7 separate regions of the Homo sapiens genome follow, and all the other regions are linked to region 6. The links are contacts of gene promoters, found by promoter capture Hi-C in blood cells and fetal thymus (Javierre and others, 2016). All regions are on one chromosome and are shown on one strand. Each heading gives the region's core, a stretch centred on a gene start or on the middle of the fragment in contact. The rest is flanking DNA. Distances are from core to core; before and after follow the strand shown.

Region 1 (2,700 bases), core at 90-2,589, 440 kb after region 6:
GCTCTCAAAGATGACTGAATTCAACCACTTCACTTCACAGATACAGAAACTGAGGCCCATAGATGGGAATCTCAAGATCACAAAGGGATTCAGCATTAGAAGCAAGTCTCCTACAACCCATTCATGGATCTTTTCCCTTCATAATGTTGCCTTCCTTCTCCCAGTGATAAAGGTGAGATGTGGATGAAGTCTAACAATGAGCTGTGCATCAGAATGTCATGGTCTAAAATTTTTCAGGCAATGATTAACATTAATATCTGCCTTGCAAATGGACTCAGCAGCTGGGACAAGGCAGATGTGGCAACACAAATATGTTGCCCATGACACATGAATTGGAAGAGTGGGGTGGAGGCAGCTCTTGAGTGAAGGAACAAAAGAAAAGCCTGTCTGTCTGGAATGCAATGGGAATGAAGATTCCAAGGAGGTCATTTAGGGAGAAGCAGTGCCTGAACCCCAGACAAGGCTGGGTGCGGTAACATCTGTGCTTTTGCAAGGGAAATAAAAGGGAATCTGCTTCCCTGCCTGAAGGGATGATATATGGGCTTCTGAGGCACTGGGCGTGGGCCGAAGGCATGATACAGGGCTTGATGGATGAAGGCTGAGGTAACTCAGTAGGCCACACATTAATAAAAATTATCAAACTGTCCCAGTTGGTGGAGTAGAATGCTAATGCCATTCTCCACATGTATGTTAAAGGAAGAGAATGTCTGAAGGGAGGTAACCTGCTTTTTATCTTTACCTTCATTTCACTTGTCCAAATTATATCCTCTGTTCTGCTGCCAAGATCCTATGCAAGCCAAGTCTGGCAGAGCCTACTCTATACTACAACCACCTGTGATAGTTCACCTGCATCTAGCCATTCTTAACTGAGAATGAGAAGTGTATTCTAATCACAACTTAGCCCCATAAACAACTTTCATCACTCTCAAGTGCCCAAAGAATCAACTTCAGATATCATAACCTAGCCTTCAAGGCTTTCATCCGCTTGACCATGAATTCCAGTCTTGCTCATTCTATACTTCTCCAGACACCTTTCATTTCCATCTTCATGATTTTCTTGCTTTATGCTCTTCCATCTGTCTGAATTTCCTCTTACTTGTTCTCTATTATTGAAATCCCTTCCATCCTTCCAGGTTGAGATGAAAGCCCACTTTATTCACAAAGGCCGCACATCCTTAGCCTCTGATTTCAGCCTCAATTGCAATGGACAGTTCCAATGTGAGTTCAAACTCACTTTGCGCTGCCCCAAGACCTACCTCCTTGAATATATGCCAGGTATATCTTTGCACTTCCTGCCCCAAGGCCTTCAATGATGCCGTGGGACCTCTCTCAGCTCATATGAGCAAGTATAGCCTAGAAGTTTAAGAAACATCAATCTTTAAACAATTGAGATAGGGAGCTAGAGAAGACATAATCTAGCTTTGCATCTTTAAGCCAGCAAGAGCCTCAATACATCAATAGTAATCTTGTGAACACATCCCTGTACTGGCTTTTTCCCCTTCTGGGTCCTGTTCATGATCCTTCATAACTGTTTCCTATGGATACCTACCTAATCTGTGCTCAAGCTCTGTTTTAGGGTTATCAAAACAAAAACAGAATGAGTACACATCTTCTACCTTGAATTACAGCTAGACCTGTCTCTGGAATTTCCCCAGTAATTAGAACTAGTAGTCAATAATTGTTTGTCAGCTAGAAATAAATTTTAAAATACAAGCCACTAGTATCAACTCTACATGTGGAGAAGAACCTCACTTATAAACTATATAATTATCAAGACTGTCCACGTAGCTAATAGTAGGTGAGGAACATCAGAAGAGTCCAGTCTCACTGACATTCGATTTTGCAGTCACTTTATGTTCAGCCAGTTAACAGTACTCATTGGATGTCATTTCCATCACCTCTGCTTCCCTATTTTATGGGCCCAGAACTCCTTTGAGAAGCTCAGCTGCTGCAGAACAGCCAGATCTGACCTTCCTAAGGCATGATTCATCATGCATTGATGACAGAACATCTGCACCCAATGTATGAAACATGGTGACTCGCAGTGTCTGGCTCAGGATATGACCTGGCTCAGAGCTTAAGTCTTCCCATGATTTCTGTCTTGAAAATAGCTCCTAGCATGGTCCCCATACCCTCAGCCAAAAGCACATCCCCCTCAAGTTTTTTTCATTATACTCTCCTCTCCTTTTATTAAAATAAATAAATACATAGGTACATACATACATACACACATACATACATAATTTCCCCTTCAGGGATTCCTTGGAAGCCATCAAGAGTAGGGATAAAGAGCAGAATTTCTGAGTGAGAAAGAATTAGGTTCAAGTTCAAACTTAATACTTCTATGCCCTTAAGTAAGTGACTATGCCCCCTCTAAACCTGAGTTTTCCCACATGTGAAATGAAGATAATACTAACTAATTTTCAGAACAATTTTGATGATTATATAGGATAACTTGGCATCTAGGTGTTCAATAAATGCTGACTATCTTCTCTTTCCCTTTAATAGCTTTACACTTCCCACAATGCTTACAAAATTTCTGGTATGGTGTAGGTACTTAACAAATGTCATTACTCTTGCTTCATTCTTGTTGTTGCTGTTGTTGTTGTTGAGACGGAGTCTCACTCTGTTGCCCAGGCTGGAGTGCAGTGGTGTGATCTCGGCTCACTACAACCTCCACCTCCCAATTCAAGAGATTCT
Region 2 (2,935 bases), core at 238-2,737, 490 kb after region 6:
TGCTTTGCTCCTCAGGGTATCCCAAGTGCCCAGAACAGTGTCTGGCCAATAGGAGCCCCTTAGTCAATACTTGTTCAAATGATGTAAATGGAATTCTCACTCTTCAGCCATCTCATACATATACCCCCCATCTAACTGACACTGACCCTCTTAGTTTAGTATTCTACAACATTTGAGTCAAGAATATGGATCTATTCTCCAGGAGAAAAATATAAGTAATGTATAATTCTGCAAAAACTTTCTAGGGATGAGCATCCAAAGATCCTATAAAGTCAAGGATCCCCAAATGCCAAATTAACAACCCTTGCCATAAAATCAGTCCTGGTCCCCGCAATTCATCTTCTGTTGCTATAGTTGCTACTCTAAGACTCAAATCTAGTTATATTTTTCCTTGACCTACAATCTTGAAAGACTCTATATGGTTTGCACAGCACCCGAATTTTACAACATGGCATTCAAAGTTGCCCACAATGCAGCCTTCTGCCTATCCCTTTTCCAGTTTTATTTCTACCAAATCTTTCAGGCCTGTTGCAAGAATGGCTGACTGAACACAAAAGCTTTGGACTCAGACATTCTGGGTTTGAATTCTCACCCCACAATTCACTAGCCATGTTATCTTAAGTAAATTATTCACCTCTCTGAAGTCTCAGGTTTTTGTTTTTTAATTTGTAAAGTAAGCATAATAGTGAATACTTCAAATGTGTTGTAGGGGGACAGAGTAAGAGAACATATATAAATACACATGAAGCACTTTTTTAAATGCCAGGCACATAGTTGGCACTCGATAATTGTTAGGTTTTATTCTTCTATTCTTCTATTCTACATGCTCAGCACATAGTATTGACACATTTTTCTGTCTCCTGCTTTTCCAATATTGCTTAGTCTAGACCGGGGTTTGGCAAACCTTTCCTGTAAAGGACTAGAAAGTAAACACTTTGAGCTTTGCACCCCATACTGTTTTCTGTAGCTACTACTTAATTCTGCTGTTGCAGCAGGAAAGCAGTTATAGATGATACGTAAATCAAGATATGTGGCTATGTTTCATAGACTTGATTTATAAAAATAGGAAGCAGGCTGGATGTGGCCCATGGGCCATAGTTTTCCAACTTTGGTCTAGACTAGCTTTGAAATCTTACAGACCTGGGTTCAAGCTTCTCTGGGGTTCCATCTCCTTATCTGTTAGATAAGGATAATAATAGTACTTCCCTCATAAGTTGTTGGATGATTAAATTAGATAAAGCATGTAAAGTCCTTAGCACAGTTTTTGGCACATAGTACATATATATGTATCTGATGGATATTATTGTCTTCATCATCAAAAAACTTGCTTTGCAGTTCTACTATGTGCCCATATCCACCTTCCCTTCTTTAAGAATTGTTTCCAGATTCTCCCTCTCAGAGTTTCTTTCTCTCTTCTAACACTATTGGAATGTCTATTGCACTATTCAAAAATAAATCATGCATTTGTGTAGCATATGTAAGTAATTATAGTAGCATATGTGTCCTTGTTACTAGACTGTGTGCTCCTTGAAGGCACAGTCTGTGTCTTGTTCCTCTCTATAGCACATTTTCTAACACAGTATCTGGCACACAGTAGGCAACCAATGCAAGATAATCACAGTGATGGGGCTATAGCGAGGGTGATGCTGGTAGTGATAGTAGTGGTGTAGCATAGTGGTGGCGGTAGTGGTCATGGTTGTAGTGATGGTAGGTACTGGTAATAACTGGGGGAGGGGGTGAGACTTGGCTGTTAATTTCTCTTCAAAGAGTAGTTATTTGGAATTCTCTTCTCAGTTGGAGCCAAAAAGTGGAAATGAAACAAACAAGCTTTTCTGGCAGAGAGAAAGAATCTGCTGGAAGGTCAGACAACCACAAGACTAGAATTACACATGACTCTTCCTAGAGCAGCATGAACAGAAAATGCTCACAGGATTGGAAGTCTGAAAACCCGAGGGCTGGAAAGAACCATTCAGATCTACAGAGTATTTTACAGCCTTCAAAACATTGAAAGTCTCTTAATTTTTCTACAGACAGCTGTGGGGAAAGTTACCACCACCCATTTCCCAGATGAGAAAACTGAGCCTTGGAAAAATAAAAGATATTTCCAAGGGTTGAAGGCATGTCTTACTTCAAATTCAGCCTTGGCTATGTGACCTGAAAAAACTCAGTCCTCAGCTCTGTTCTTAGTTTTACTATCTGTAAAATAAAGAGGTTGATTTGTAAAATAAACAGGATAAGATTTTAATAGCCCTATCTGCTCATAAATGCTATGTCATTGTGTGCCACTGGTATGGAGTGCAAGATATGTATATCTTTCTCCTCCCAGTATTAAATTTAAGGAGTAAAATTGGCATTGTCTCTGAATGGGAAACAAATTTCAGGTCACAGGATGCCTCTTCCAACCTCAAAAGATTTGCTTTATATTCTGGGTAGAAGTTAGAGCTGACCTTATCACAGTGCCAAAGGGGACCTTGGATGAAGTTAGCCTGCTTTTCTCATCATACAGATAAAGAAATGGAGACCTAGACAGTAGAAGCATGTCCAATGTCATATAATAATCAAGGACAGAGCCTAGTTCAGATTCCTAGTGTCTCCGTTTTCTAGTTTTCCCAAAGAAAACTCCCAACCCTGAGATGAAAAGGGATAAATACTAGATTGCCTACTTTACAAATAAGTAAAAGTCAGATCACATAGACAGTAAATGGCAGAGAAGGGATTCAAATCCAACTCTGTCTGGCTCTTTAGTATGCCACTCCTCTGCCTCCTCCACTTGGAAGACTCTCTTTCACCCAGGAGCTAAGTTAACAACCACACAAAGTCTTGTACATTTAAGCACCAGTTGTGCTGAGCCAAGCTCTGTGGCTTTGGGCTGTGTAAGAGCCATTTAACAGGTGGAGGGAGGAGATTTATGCATTAATCAAATTATTCTTCATAA
Region 3 (2,700 bases), core at 15-2,514, 400 kb after region 6:
TAAAAGTACAGAATTTTGAGAGTACATCACTACAACTTCCTAGATATGTTATTTGGGAGAACATATTTAATTTTTCTATATCTCAGTCTCTTTTTTGTAAAATGGGAAGAGAGATGCCTAACTTTTCAGTATTCTTGAGTTAAATGAAAGTGTCTAATTTTTGCAGTATTCTTGGATTAAATGAAAGTATTTATAGCACACAGCATGATATGTAGCAGGTAATAGAAGCCTATAAATAATATTTCCCTTCCCTTTTATGGCCCTTCCTAAATGCCAAGAGATGGATGGCCACGAGTTTCTTTATGTGTCCTTCTTGCTCTCAATTTAGATGGAGACATGGCTGCTTGGAAATTGTCCTTAAAGGAACCACAGGTTGGTACAGAAGTGAAAGTACTATAATTTGGAAGATCTTCAAAAAAACTCTTTTGACATTGTGGCATGTAATTTCCATACCTTTTTCCTACGTGTATATAAAGAATGTAATATCTTCTGTCTTTGAGCAATTATAAACCCTCAGGATGAAAGAGGCAGAGTGATAGTACAAACAAATAAAACTTCATAACAAACAAGCAAACATAGACCTCTCATGTGGTTCTTGGGGTTTTCAACAGCTCTGAACTTGCATTTGCTTCAAGCACTGCCCAGTTCTAAGAGACTGTAATTGAATATACATTGTTCGATTTTTGTTTTTTGCACTAGTCCCATTACAGAGCTATAAGCATAGAAATAGAATGACCATGTCCACCCTGTTGATCAGTCTTTTCTTTCAGCAAATGAGTACTGTGATCCCACTATGGACCATATCCTATATCATGGGTGCTGAGATGAAGGGCAGAGTCCCTGTCCACACAGTACTCTCAGACTAATGTCAGCACACAGCCCCCACCCCATCTTGAGTCCCAAAATTCAGCTGTGATGTTGCAGACAAGCTGGAGACTTTCAGATAAGATAACAATACAAACAGCAGCAGTAGTAGCAGCTTCTACTTAGGAGGGCTTACTAATATGACAGAATCTACTCTAGACCCTTTACATTTTCTGTCTCTGATTCTCTCCATACCTCTGCAAGACAAGTATGGTCACTACTTTTTTTTTTTTTAACTGCACTGAAGAGAAAAAGAAAAAAGTGATTTGCTTAAGGTAGTGCAGTCAGTGAGTGACTGAGCCAGAATTACATAACAGGGTTCCCTTTTCCTCTGGGGACCAAGAGAGCTTATGGAAGGACATGGGCCATTTCTCAGCAAGATGACACTGCACAGCCACAGGCCAATGACTTGGCATTGCTTTGGCCCAGGAAGTTCAACTCAGAGAAGTAGACTCAAGCAGCCCAGGAATTTTAGGTCCGGAAAAGTCATGTTTCCTCAGAGATGCTTGCTTTTGTCAAGCCACGGGTTCTGACAGGGCTATATTCTCAGACCATTCAGCTCATCCTCAATCTTTAGTACCTACCAGACACAAGGTTCACCCATCTTGATACAGTGAGACACAGAAGAAAAAGCCAGGGCTTGAGTTTGTCTGAGCCTCAGTTTCCTCAGATGTAAAAAGGATATGAGAATATACCCTTCTACACAAGAATGATGTGATAACGAAATAAATTATCTAAATGGCCTGGCACATGGTAGATACTTAAGAAATGCTCATTCTCGTTCATTTAATATTTATTGAGTGTCTACTATGAGCCAGTCACTCTTGTTGGTGCTTAGAACATACCAGTCAGCAAAACATGCAACAGATTGTTGCCTTTATGCAGATTACATTCAAGGGTAGGGAAGCAGTTCTTACCCGACTCTACTTTATGTGCTTCCTTGCCAGGCAATGACAAAGGAACTTGCCTCCTGGTGAAGCCTACAACCTGTGGGACTGGAGGAGATCTCCCCTCCTCTTCCATATGTGTTAAATGTTGCAATCAGAAAGACCCTTGGAAACTCCACTCTGGGGCATTTGTTACACTGTAAATCCCTTGCCCTAACCTTATTCCGTCCCACAAACCAATTTAGAGAGCTGAGACCTTGGATATCTCATCAGACCAGATGGACGAGAAAATCATCTAGGGAGAGGAAATTCAACAAACATATGCTGAATACATCTCTATGCAGAGTCCTATGCTTCTGGTGCTGAGAAACAGGCTGAAGCACATACACAGTTTATTTCACAACTTATTTGGAAGATAATTCTTTTCTGAATTAAATTATGATCTATGGTCTTTTTTCTTTACTCTCAACTTAGTGTGTTTGTGTATGTACATGTCTAACTGCAGAAGTAGGAAGTATGATGATGGGGATGTTGTCTGTGAATCCAACGAGAATGTTACAAAATATATGGTGTATGCACTGCAGTGCCTTTCTAAAAATCCAAAAAGAAATTCTGAATCCTGATCACATCTAATACCAAGGACTTTGGATAAGGACCTTTAGTACTAATTTCCTTATTTTGCCTGGGAAGCTGAGCTTCAAGGAACCTAAGGAACTTGTCCAAAGTTACACAGCTAATAAGTAACAGAATCAGGATTTGAGCCTGGGAAGTTTGACTTAAGAACCTGTATTTGTGGCCTTTATATTACTCTGCCTTCTTATTCCTTGAACTATTAATATGAGCCAGGAGCATTTTCTTCTTCCTCTTTCTTCTTAGTTTACTCTTCACAACACTCTAAAAGGCACTTACTATTATTGCCGCTTTTTATTGATAAAGAAACAACTGTACA
Region 4 (2,700 bases), core at 32-2,531, 470 kb after region 6:
TGTGTGTGTGTGTGTGTGTTTGGTTTTTGTAATAAATAGGAACTTGAGCTTGTGGAAAACAAAACAGGAAATCTCTCTGGACTTCATAAGTTTCACCATCCAGGCAGTTCTTGGGAAGAAATCCTGCCTGTAAGAATCCACATCCACTGGCTCTTTCCCAAAACCCCGAGGAACAGAATGGGGACTGGTGCAATGGCCAGGCAAACACTGGTTAGAACACAAACACACCCTGATAAAAGGCCAGCATCAAACAGGGAGTCCTCATAAGGCTGCAGAAGCCAGCACTGTGTCAATGCAGGATCACTCTTTCCTTACCTCTTCTGTCCTTGCAACACTCCATCCAGAGTCCAATTAGATCCCGGGGGAGGAAAATCATAGAATGTTCCAGCTTCACAGGACTCTGTAAATCATGTAACCTAATCCGTTTCACAGATGCAGATACAGTGACCCAGAGATGCTAGTTTGCTGGACCAAGGTGATAGAACAACTTCACGATGAAACTACTCTATCCCTCCGTTAAGTGCTCAAAATTACCCATTGAAATGGATGCTCAATACCCACTTACAGAAAAGCGTGCAGGAGCAGGGAGGGACTTGAACTAAAGCCCATTTGAATCCTTGTACCCTTGACCTTAGTAGGTCACACAGGAAGAATAAATGCCAAGATTTGATCCAAAATATCCTGTTCAGCCACTCTGCTTGGGTCATGTGCTTATGTGTGTGCATGTGTTGTTTGCATGCGTATGTGTCTCTGTGTGTTTGAGAGAAAATGAAACCTTATACTGGAGGCATTATTGCCTCCTAGTTTTTGAATAAGTAGAGGGACCTAAGAAACAAATTCTGTACTTAATGGCTACATTTGCATGGCCATTGGTTTTCATAACGAAGGTTTGCATTTCCATGACTTGTAAACGCTTCCAACTTCTGGCTAATTAGCTAGCAAACCAAGCTGGGCAACAGGAGAAAACAGCCACAAAAATATTAAGCAATCAAAAAAAACTAGGATGTATTTCTGACTCTCTTGTTACTTTCCTTTTTGAACTTGCATAAAAGATTCCTCGTTCTTAACCTCAATTTCCCTATCTCCAAATGAGGGGGTAGAAGATATGTTTTCTAAGGTTTAAGTTCAGTACACATTCACTGAACTTCCTACTTCATACCTTGTGCCTTCCAGAAACTAAGAAAGGGAATGAACAAGACCAAGTCACTAACTTCAAAGGATCCGTGGCTTATTAGCAAAGAGACACACACAAACAATTACAATTACTATAGTTCAAATGCTATGAAGTAATACACATAGAAGGCTATGAGAATACAGAAGGAAGGGGGCTCTTCTAGCTCTAAAACTATGACAATATCTTAGGAATTTTAAACTTTAGGTAAACACCCTCTACTTAAGATATTTAGAAACATCTACACAGAATGTCACTAAGCCCATGAATTAAATTCCACACTCTATACTTCAAATGACTGTAATTTTTACACTAAAAAATATTTTCATGTGCTAATACCAAGTCAGTTATTTTTGATACTAAGATGGTTCTGGTCTGTATGACTCCAAAAAGATGCTCTGAAGTCCTTATTAATGCCTAATGGATTTCATCTCCACGGTATTAACAAACTTGGTCATATGGCTGCTCAACCCATAACAAATGAAGCGGGAAAAGGCTTTCTAGAGAAAAAAAAAAAATCTATTATCTTTTTACCCACTGGCTCCATTTTAGGGCCAAACACAGTATCTAGCATTTAACATAAGGCAGTCAATGTTTGTTGAATTAAAAGTTCACATGGAATGCTGAATAAAACAAACCAAATAAATGATAAAAGCAAAGAAAATGTGTGTGCATGTTTGTGATCCTCTTCTTCCCCAGGATTACTTGTATCTCCCATGTCAGTTTGGTGCTTCTAGCCAAAAAGTGGTGGTCAACCCTCTACCTTATAAGGCATCTCAAAACCAACCTCCCAGCTGGGCACAGTGGCTCACACCTGTAATCCCAGCACTTTGGAAGGCCGAGGCGGGTGGATCACGAGGTCAGGAGTTCGAGACCAGCCTGGCCAACATGGTGGAACCCCATCTCTACTCTACTAAAAATACAAAACTTAGTCAGGTGTGGTGGTGGGTGCCTGTAATCACAGTTACTCGGGAGGCTGAGGAAGGAGAATAGCTTGAACCCGGGAGGTGGAGGTTGCAGTGAGCTGAGATTGCGCTACTGCACTCCAGCCTGGGCGACAGCAAGACTCCATCTTGGAAAAAATAAAGAAACCCTCCCCACTCTGGCCCCATTGCTGTCTCCCTGGTGCCGCCCATTCTATAGGCACTTGCCGTGGCCTTTGGACTAGTCTCCCCACTCTCATGTTGCCTTCTCCAGCATGTCCTCTCACAGCTTTCTAAAACACCTCTTGCTTGGAGCCTTTTGAATGTTCCACACTTTCTGGTTAAAGCCTCCACTGATTCAACCTCCTTTGTTCTTCAGCTTATGACTCTTCTCCCATCTCAACCCCCCTGCACCCCTCTCTGTGATCTAGCACATGCCAACTTCTTACAGTAGTGCATGCACTATTTCATACCCACAAGCCTTTTCTCATGCTGTGCCTTTGGTCTGAAGTGCCCTTTTTCCACTTCTTCCTCCTTACTGAACTCTAGGAAGGAGGTGTGGACCCTGCCACACCTTGAGAGATTTTGTCCCTCTCTCCTCTCATT
Region 5 (2,997 bases), core at 470-2,969, 370 kb after region 6:
TACCTCTCATTTCATTGACAGAATATTTCTAACATGGATGGGATTCCCTGGTGAAAGAAAAAGAAAAGTCATTCTTGGTGGGGGACAGATTAGGCAGCTCCTATTGTTTTAGTGGCTTCTGCCTATGTCTGCGTCCCTCACCAGAGTGGGAAAAATATCTTCTTACAAATTTTTGTTATAGACTTACCTAATAGGTGCTACGTGAAATGTAACTCGATTGACTGGAAGGCAAGTATACTGCTGAAACACAGTACTTTACTATTTCAGCCATAGATCATAACCAACATAGGTGAAAATGTTTCCATGGGAAAATGTGGTCAGAGTTCCCTTCCGTGCAAAGGTGCCAGAAACACCTTTCCCTTGCAGGCTTTCACTGCTTTCTGAGAGGCAGCCTGGTGTAATGGAAAGAGCTCTATATTTGGAGCAAGATGACATGAGTTCCAGTTCAGCTTTCCTGCTCTGAGTTGAATGACCCTTAAACTCTCTGAGTCTCAGTTTCCTTCCCTGCCCAAAAGGCATAAAAACTCGTACTCCCTTGGTGTTTTGTGAACTGAAATGTTGGCAGAATCACTTTGAAAACCATAAAGTTCCCTGTACAATGTTGAAAACTTATTAGTACCTTTCTGATCTGCTGGGATGTGAGCCCCTCACATGACTTTCACATGAAAGTTGGCATTCCTTCTCAGGGTTACATGGCCAAGGTACCCATTCCTCTCTGTAGAGATATGCCTGTTCTGTCTCTAAGCAGCCTAGGCATCTCTGATCCAAAAAAGCTTCAACTTCCAAAATTCATAAGCTCCAACAAAAAGAGAACTGAAGAGGAGAAGTGGAGCACTGGTATAAAGATACCTGAAAATGTGGAAGTGACTTTGGAACTGGGTAACAGGCAGAGCTTGGAATAGTTTGGAGGGCACAGAAGAAGACAGGGATATGTGGAAAAGTTTGAAACTTCCTAGAGACTTGTTGAATGGTTTTGACTGAAATGCTGATAGTAATATGGACAATGAAGTCCAAGACAAGGTTGTCTCAGACGGAGATGAGGAACTTATTGGGAACTGGAGCAAAGGTCACTCTTGCTATGCTTTAGCAAATAAACTGGTGGCATTTTGTCCCTGTCCTAGGGATCTGTGGAACTTTGAACTTTACATAAATGATTTAGAGTATCTCTGACAGAAGAAATGTCTAAGCAGTAAAGGATTCAAGAGGTGACCTGACTTTTTGGAACACATGTGGACAGTATGTGCTGTAGATCATGCTCCTTCTTGGGGCCCTCCCAACAGAGCGTAGGCTGCAGGGTGGAAGATGTGGCATAGGAGGAAGCACCAGAGCATGGGAGCAGGTGACTTCTTAGGAGTTAGGACTTCCTCATCGGCCCTCCCCTCATCCAGTCTGAGAGCCTTTGCACCACAGATGGCTTCTGCCCTTTTTGGCCACTGTCATATATATAATCAAGCATCAGATTGAAACTCACATCCAAAAGCTATGCATCTCATCTCTAATAGTGGTCCATGAATTTGAGTGATTGTGGTAACCTGGGGCAGCAGGCACAGGAGAATTATTAAGCAAGCCACCTGCCTTCAATAGCAGTGGCAGAAGAAGTATTGAGAATTCCCAGTGTGCCTTCTCACTCCTTTATCCTGCAGGTGCCAGCTTAAGCAAAACTCCTACTATACTGTCTCCTTGTTGAAAGGTCGTTAATAATTATCCATGGGCCTGAGAAAAATGTCAAAGCTCTTTACAGTCACCCTAAATAATGCAATCCCACTCACCATTCCAGACCCACTCTCTCCACAAACCATCCCTTACAGATTCATTCACAAACAGACCTCCCAATTTCACACCTCTCTGCTTTTTCCTATGCTATTCCCTCAACTTGGTAGATCATTTCACCTTATCCTCTTGCCTGTCCCCATTACAGTCCTTCTTATTGACATCCTACTCATTTCTAAGGTCCGGCTCAAGTGCCATCTTCTCTAGGAAGACCTCTGTTATCCAAAACCTCCTCACAGCCCACTTCATTTGTTCTTCTCTAATCCAGACCCAACCTCTGTTATTTGGTGTTGATTTCTTTCACAAAAAGGATAAAAGAAGGTTCATATTCACATATATGCTCCAGTTTCTTCTATATGCATGTGCACCACATTATGGAAACAGCTAAAAGCCCCTCTTTCCTTGCCTGTAATATGGGAATAATCATACCTACTCTGTGGGGTTGGTGTGAGTAGTAAATGTGACAAAAGACTGGGCACGGTGGCTCATGCCTGTAATCCCAGCACTTTGGGCGGCCAAGGTGGGAGGATCACTTGAGGCCAGGAGTTTGAGAGCAGCCTGGCCAACATGGTAAAACCCCGTATCTACTAAAAATACAAGAACAACAAAAAATTAGCTAGGTACAGTGGCTCATGCCTGTAATCCCAGCCACTTGAGAGACTCAGGTGGGAAAACTGCTTGAACCCAGGGGTCAGAAGTTGCAGTGAGCTGAGATCATGCCACTGCACTCCAGCCTGGGCAAAAGAGAAAGAACTTGTCTCAAAAAAAAAAAAAAGTGACAAAAGATGTGAAAGTAAATTTTAGTTTCAGAAATACTGCGAAAGTAAATTTTAGTTTCAGAAATACAATTTTTGATTCATCATGATTTTTAGTATGCATCCCTAGCAGATTTGTTTAAGCTTCTGATGAGCTCAGCCCGATATCTGTATCCTAGATGCTCAGATCCAATTCTGGCCCAAAGCAAGTGATTAGAGAATGTCTGATGACACAAAGACCAATGAAACAGAATAGCAAGTCCAGAAATAAATCCACACATTTACAGCCAACTAATTTTCAACAAAGGAGCCAAGAATACACAACAGAGAAAGGACAGTGTCTTCAATAAACGGTGCTGGGAAAGCTGGATATTGACATTCAGAAGAATAAAATTGGACTCTCACATCATGTACAAAAGTCAACTCAAAATGAAGCAAAGACTTAAATATAAGACCTGAAACTATAAAGTAA
Region 6 (2,906 bases), core at 246-2,745:
TTGGTTTTCTCTCTTCCTGAAGCGTGTAGCAATGTTCCTAGCTCTCAAGAAAGATCTGGAGCAGCTCGGAAGATAAGAGCAATTGAAGAAGAAAGTTACAATTTAGTGGAGTTAATTTTATCGCAGACTTTCAGCACGCTATTCACATGCAAACTTCACACAGAATATTTTTATCACTACCTTATTGGAATAGATTGGTAATTAATAGCTTGTAATCCACCATTGCTAACATGTTTTGACTTATTAAACACTTGGACAAAATAAAAGAAGATCTGTTTTGCCATAAGGGGGAGCTTTTGAGTTCTATAAAGAGGGGGAAAAAAGAAGAAAAAAATATATTACATGTATGTCCCAGTTCAAAAACAGACCTACAAAGCAGCAAATGGTCAGATCCTTACCTGTGACTTTAACAATTTCAGAGGACCTGAATTGCTTAAGTTGAAAACATTAGGCAAATTAATATTTTTCTCTCATTTTCTTCTTATAAAATTAAAATAATTTCTAATGACCAACAGAGTATTTTAAAGAGTATTCGGGGAAATTCAGAGACCCAGTTGTACTAGGACTACAGCTTCTGAAAGGCAGATGTCCTGGACAGTGCCTTTCTTCTATTTTCTTCTGATGATTCCATAAGAACTTTGGAAACATTTGGGTTAGCTGAAGCCAGCCTTATCTGGGGGCTCAGAAAAGAGGGGAATGGTTCATCATCGTACAACTTTAAGGAAATTCTGAGAGGGAAAAGGACAGGGAAAAGAAGAGGGAAAGAGGTAAAGGGAGAGGAAGCGGGAAGAAGAGTAAGGGAGAGAGTGAGAAAAAGAGAAAGAGAGGGAGAGGGAGGGAGGGAGAGACAGAGAGAGAGAATTAAAAAAAAAAATCTAAGAATCAAGTTTCAAGACTCTTTATGTGCTACAGAAAAGGATGAGGTTTACCAGCAAAGTGCAAAGGGGATCCTAAGAGAAGAGACAGATTTTTCTCCTGCCATCAGAAATAATAATAATAAGTGGGGGGAGTGAGGGAGGGAAAAAAAGCAAGCAAAACAAAACAAAAACAGGAATGTGTGTTTTGAGCAGGAATGAGAGCTGGGAGGACCGTAAGGGGGTGTGTACAGAATTTCATTAAATTGTTACTTTAAGATTGTCTCCTTAAAAAAAAAAAAAAAAAAAGAGAGAGAGAGAGAGAGAGAAAAGGAGGGGGTGGTGGAGAAGCGGGAGCGAAGGAAAGGAGGCAAAAGGCAAAGTGAAGGAAAGCTGGATAGCTCGGCCTCTCCAAACTGATTGATTAGTCATGATCCCCGCAGTTTTAACAGGGACTCATTCAATTGGGAAGGTGGAGCGCTGGGGAGCAGATTAGCATACGCTTGTTTACTCATCTTCTGAGGGATTTTTTCCCCCTCTTTCCTTTCATTTTGAGAAGAAGGAGGGAGGGGAGGGGGGACTTGGGGGGGGAGAAGGGGGCTGTGGCTTGTGTTATAAAGGACGCAAAAAATAAATAAATTAGAGCATCTTTTGGGGGGAGGGAATTCAGCGGATCAGTCTTAAGAGGAGCTTTTTTTTGGAGCGAGAAATCATATAAAATAAAATGAAATAAAACAAGGAGGAAGGCAACCAGCTGTTAGGGGAAAAATAAGGCAGATAAAGGAGCGGGGAGAGAAATTAATTGCCAACCAGGAGGAGTTGGGCTGTATTTTTCAAAGGTGGGGAGAGTGGAGCACACACCTTGAGGAGGAAAGCGAGAAAGAAAAGAAAAAAGCAAGTGGAAAGGGGGGCTCGCCCAAGAAGGGTGAAGAAGCGAAGAAAGTCGAGGCGCCGAGGCTCCCAAAGCTGGCAGCTCCGGGTGGCGGTGCAGGGGCGAAGGGGGGGCGGGGGGAACCGTCGGACATGCGGCTCTGGAGTTGGGTGCTGCACCTGGGGCTGCTGAGCGCCGCGCTGGGCTGCGGGCTGGCCGAGCGTCCCCGCCGGGCCCGGAGAGACCCGCGGGCCGGCCGACCCCCGCGCCCCGCCGCCGGCCCGGCCACCTGCGCCACCCGGGCGGCCCGCGGCCGCCGCGCCTCGCCGCCGCCGCCGCCGCCGCCGGGCGGTGCCTGGGAAGCCGTGCGCGTCCCCCGGCGGCGGCAGCAGCGGGAGGCGAGGGGCGCCACCGAGGAGCCGAGCCCGCCGAGCCGGGCGCTCTATTTCAGCGGGCGAGGCGAGCAGCTGCGCCTCCGGGCCGACCTCGAGCTGCCCCGGGACGCGTTCACGCTGCAAGTGTGGCTGCGAGCGGAGGGGGGCCAGAGGTCTCCGGCAGTGATCACAGGTAGGTGAGGGCGCCTCGGCGGGCGCTGCACCGTCCCTGCGGCCCCAGAGGCTCGCGGGTGTCTGGGCGCGGGTGGCGGGCGGGTCGGGGGCTTGCGGGCGTGTCTGTGCGAGAGCTGCCCCGCGAGCGGCGCAGAGACATCCGGGCGAGCTGAGAGCCTCACTTTGCTCCATCGGTGGAATGGGCACACTCGGAAGGCGTAGCTGCTCCATCCCTGGGAGGAACCTGGGGAGCCCTCCTGGCGGCCCCGCGGACCCTCGGCCAGTGAGGGCTGGTTCCCGGAGCCTAGGGCACGTAACCCGTGCTCCGAATGGTCAGATGCACTCTCTCCTTTTGGGATGAAAGGGAGGATGACCCAATTGAGATGCATGTGAAAGGAGACTTGGGGACCGTTGATTTCTTTGACGTTTTAATGGAGGTAACTCCCCTTCATTAGGCCCCATTCCCCTGAAAGCCGGCAAGGGCAAGGTTGTTGTAATGGCCAGGACTTAGAAGTCCTCGAAGTGCCCCAAAGTTGCTCACTGATTGAAGCCTGCCTCTGGGACTCACCCTCACCCCCTCCACGCCATCCCATGTCCTAGCTTTTAAAGCCCATTGCCTGTCACTCGGGGCTG
Region 7 (2,700 bases), core at 93-2,592, 340 kb after region 6:
AATTATTGTGTAATAAAAATTTATGAAAAGGTAGCAAGGATATTATGCTTTTTTTTTTCTGTAACTATTCTGGCCTTGTCACTGTTATTCACTCCCTGTTAACTCCTTGAGCAAAGCTCTTCTCTCTTAGAATTGCATTTTCCTTCTTTGTATAATGAAGGAACTGGACTAAAGATGTAAAATAATTTTCATGTCAAATTGCCACTGTTAGGCATGGGTACTGGATTCATGGAGTGTTATAGTGAGATGGACAGAGACCAGCTAAGGAGTAAAGAGTTCTGTGATTGATTAGTGATGAAGGTCATGGAACCTTCACCATGTACAGGATGTACATGATGTCATGGAACGTTCACCATGTACAGGATGGAACAATGGGAGACTATGTGCCACATATTTGTGATCCTCAAACTCCATCACTTCTTTAATTTACTTTAAATCTAACCATTGGATTTTAAGAAGTAGTGGAAGTTTACTAGAAACAGAACTAATAAAGAAGTCTAGGAAGTAAAGAAAACTAGAAAGAATAACTGAACATCTAGACTCTTGGGATCTAGTCTTAGTTCTGTTGAGAATTTGCTGTATAGTCTTGGGCAACTAAATCCTCATTTTTTGTGCTTCAGTTTTCTCCTCTGCATGGTGAAGGTGCCAGAATCATTGTTAGGATTCTTGAAAAAAATAAAATAAAAATACAGATATGAACAAAAATTAAGTTATAAGGATAAACATCGCAGTACTATTTATACTAGCAAGAATGTAGAAACAGCTAAATGTCCAACTACATAGAAATGGCTATATCAATTGAGTTCAATGATGCAATAGGCTATTTTATAGTCATTAAAAATAATCTGTGAAAGAATATGAAAGGATATTTATGACATAATGTGAAGTTAAAAACAGGTTACACTATTACAAAATAATCTCATTTTTGTAGAAATTTTATATGCACATGCATTTAAAAACAGAAGGAAGAAAATAAAAACAAATGTTTAAGGTGGACTGTCTGGAGAGTGACATAATGGGCACTTTTTCTATCTTATTTTTGCTTATCTCTATTTTAAAAATTATCTTCAATAAACATATATTGCTTTTGTAACCCATAAAAATATCAATAAAAATTACTTAAAAATAGATAAAGTAAATGGGCCAGACTAAATGGCCTCTAAGTTCCCCTCTAATTCTAAAATTGGATGATCTAGGAAAAAAACTGACATATGAGGTATTTTTATACCGCACAGTATAAAATGATATGAGGCCTCTCAACTGTTGTTTTCTTCTTTTCTTCATGCCTGATAGAGAGTTCCTCAGAGCTCTATTCATGTACAGCCCCACTAATAAACCAGAAAAGGGTGCCAGCTCCATTACATCCTCTCTACCTGGGGTTAAGAACAAGACAATGTCATGAAACCATAAAAGAACAATAGTGTTGGCTCGTGTTTCAGAAGATTAGGACTCAGAGCAGCTTGGTGGTGCTTCTCTACCAAGGAACTGGTTGAGCAGAATATACAGATCACTTCCTGTTGGTCTTTCAAAGAAAAGTTTCATTCTTTATTTTATTTATTTATTTATTTTTTAATTTTAATTTTAATTTTTTTGAGACAGGGTCTCATTCTGTTGCCAAGTCTGGAGTGCAGTGGTGCAACCTCAGCTCATTGAAGCCTCTGCCCCGCAGGCTCAAGAGGTCCTCCCACCTCAGCTTCCCAAATAGCTGGTACTACAGGCATGCACCACCACACCCAGCTGACTTTTGTATTCTTTGTAGAGATGGGGTCTTACCCTGTTGCTCAGGCTGGTCTCAAACTACTGAGCCTTGGCCTCCCAAAGTGCTGAGATTATAGGCATGAGTCACTGTGCCTGGCCCAAAAGTTTCATTCTTAAAGAAAAACAGTTTTAAAAAGAAGAGTTTCATTCTTCGTCTCACAAGTGAATCTTGCAAGACTTATCTGACTGAATTGGCCAGATGGCCCTGGGATTCAGCCGAACAACAGTTCTAGAAGGTATTTGCTCCTTTAGTCCAATAGAGCAGGTCTTGATGGGTACTGTTTCTTGGTTTCTATTTTTCACGAAGACAATACATGGTTCATAGACTTGACGCGTAGATGCTAGATTTAGGATCAAGTGTCTAAATCAGGGTAGTGTTGGCAACAGGCAATTTCAGCTGCCACTGCAAGACAGACCTGAGACTGAGTACTAATTCCACCATGGGCTGCAAGTCCTTAAACTTCTCAATGTCTCCATTTTTCTTTTTGTTACAAGGAGTTAACAGCACTCTCATGCATTTGGAGTCTACAGAGTAAAGCCAAGGGTCTAGAAAGAAACAAAGATGCCTAGAACCAGAGGTTTGTCTGGAAAATGAAGATGTGAATGAATCTTTTATTCAGCATAATTTTGGCATCCCACATTTCTTCTGTAGGCCTCTTATATCAGTTTCTTTCATAGTACAACCAGAAACTAACAATATGTCCATTTCAAAAAATATCACAAATTCCAGAGCAATGTATGTGATAAAAAGTAAAAAAAAAAAAAAAAAAAAAAAAAAAAAAAGGGGGCATTGGTGGTGAGGGTGAGGGTAGGGGAGAGAAAAGACATGAGATTATTCACTAGATGGAGTGAGGGTCTTATTTCACTTGGGTACTCAGGATTCCAAGTCTGGCTACATGTGTTTGTTTTCTTTGAGCTTGGGTCCATGTCTGTCTGCTTTTC

Evidence for each region. The method cuts DNA at HindIII sites, captures the fragments that hold promoters and counts their contacts. A CHiCAGO score of 5 or more calls a contact.
Region 1: a contact is called between a fragment that was not itself captured here and the fragment with the promoter of PAPPA in region 6, in 1 of 17 cell types (M2 macrophages). The highest score is 6.3, in M2 macrophages.
Region 2: a contact is called between a fragment that was not itself captured here and the fragment with the promoter of PAPPA in region 6, in 5 of 17 cell types (M2 macrophages, M1 macrophages, megakaryocytes and 2 more). The highest score is 15.0, in M2 macrophages.
Region 3: a fragment that was not itself captured here is called in contact with the fragment with the promoter of PAPPA in region 6 in 4 of 17 cell types (M2 macrophages, M1 macrophages, megakaryocytes and 1 more); the score reaches 9.1 in M2 macrophages.
Region 4: a fragment that was not itself captured here is called in contact with the fragment with the promoter of PAPPA in region 6 in 2 of 17 cell types (M2 macrophages and M1 macrophages); the score reaches 6.9 in M2 macrophages.
Region 5: a contact is called between a fragment that was not itself captured here and the fragment with the promoter of PAPPA in region 6, in 1 of 17 cell types (M2 macrophages). The highest score is 6.2, in M2 macrophages.
Region 7: a fragment that was not itself captured here is called in contact with the fragment with the promoter of PAPPA in region 6 in 2 of 17 cell types (M2 macrophages and M1 macrophages); the score reaches 11.4 in M2 macrophages.

Annotation. Positions count from the first base shown.
Region 1 is chr9:116,592,736-116,595,435 of GRCh38, forward strand. All of the region lies in intron 19 of ASTN2 (astrotactin 2), which reads right to left. Among named protein-coding and RNA genes, the nearest start is that of ASTN2-AS1, 90 kb to the left of the region's middle. The HindIII fragment of the contact is 5,700 bases long and covers 1-2,700 here.
Region 2 is chr9:116,642,419-116,645,353 of GRCh38, forward strand. All of the region lies in intron 17 of ASTN2 (astrotactin 2), which reads right to left. It overlaps LOC105376240 (a long non-coding RNA gene), which reads left to right. Exons shown (of 3, transcript XR_930277.3): 3 at 1,795-1,879. Among named protein-coding and RNA genes, the nearest start is that of TRIM32, 43 kb to the right of the region's middle. The HindIII fragment of the contact is 676 bases long and covers 1,150-1,825 here.
Region 3 is chr9:116,557,279-116,559,978 of GRCh38, forward strand. All of the region lies in intron 19 of ASTN2 (astrotactin 2), which reads right to left. It overlaps ASTN2-AS1 (ASTN2 antisense RNA 1), which reads left to right. Exons shown (of 12, transcript NR_033973.1): 11 at 329-372. Among named protein-coding and RNA genes, the nearest start is that of ASTN2-AS1, 54 kb to the left of the region's middle. The HindIII fragment of the contact is 4,648 bases long and covers 1-2,700 here.
Region 4 is chr9:116,623,186-116,625,885 of GRCh38, forward strand. The region is part of intron 17 of ASTN2 (astrotactin 2); the gene reads right to left. The region is part of intron 1 of LOC105376240 (a long non-coding RNA gene); the gene reads left to right. Among named protein-coding and RNA genes, the nearest start is that of TRIM32, 63 kb to the right of the region's middle. The HindIII fragment of the contact is 4,425 bases long and covers 1-2,700 here.
Region 5 is chr9:116,524,091-116,527,087 of GRCh38, forward strand. The region is part of intron 19 of ASTN2 (astrotactin 2); the gene reads right to left. The region is part of intron 1 of ASTN2-AS1 (ASTN2 antisense RNA 1); the gene reads left to right. Among named protein-coding and RNA genes, the nearest start is that of ASTN2-AS1, 21 kb to the left of the region's middle. The HindIII fragment of the contact is 1,896 bases long and covers 772-2,667 here.
Region 6 is chr9:116,152,296-116,155,201 of GRCh38, forward strand. It overlaps PAPPA (pappalysin 1), which reads left to right and starts at 1,496. Exons shown (of 22, transcript NM_002581.5): 1 at 1,496-2,292. The coding sequence starts at 1,878. The HindIII fragment of the contact is 9,307 bases long and covers 1-2,906 here.
Region 7 is chr9:116,487,763-116,490,462 of GRCh38, forward strand. All of the region lies in intron 19 of ASTN2 (astrotactin 2), which reads right to left. Among named protein-coding and RNA genes, the nearest start is that of ASTN2-AS1, 15 kb to the right of the region's middle. The HindIII fragment of the contact is 6,694 bases long and covers 1-2,700 here.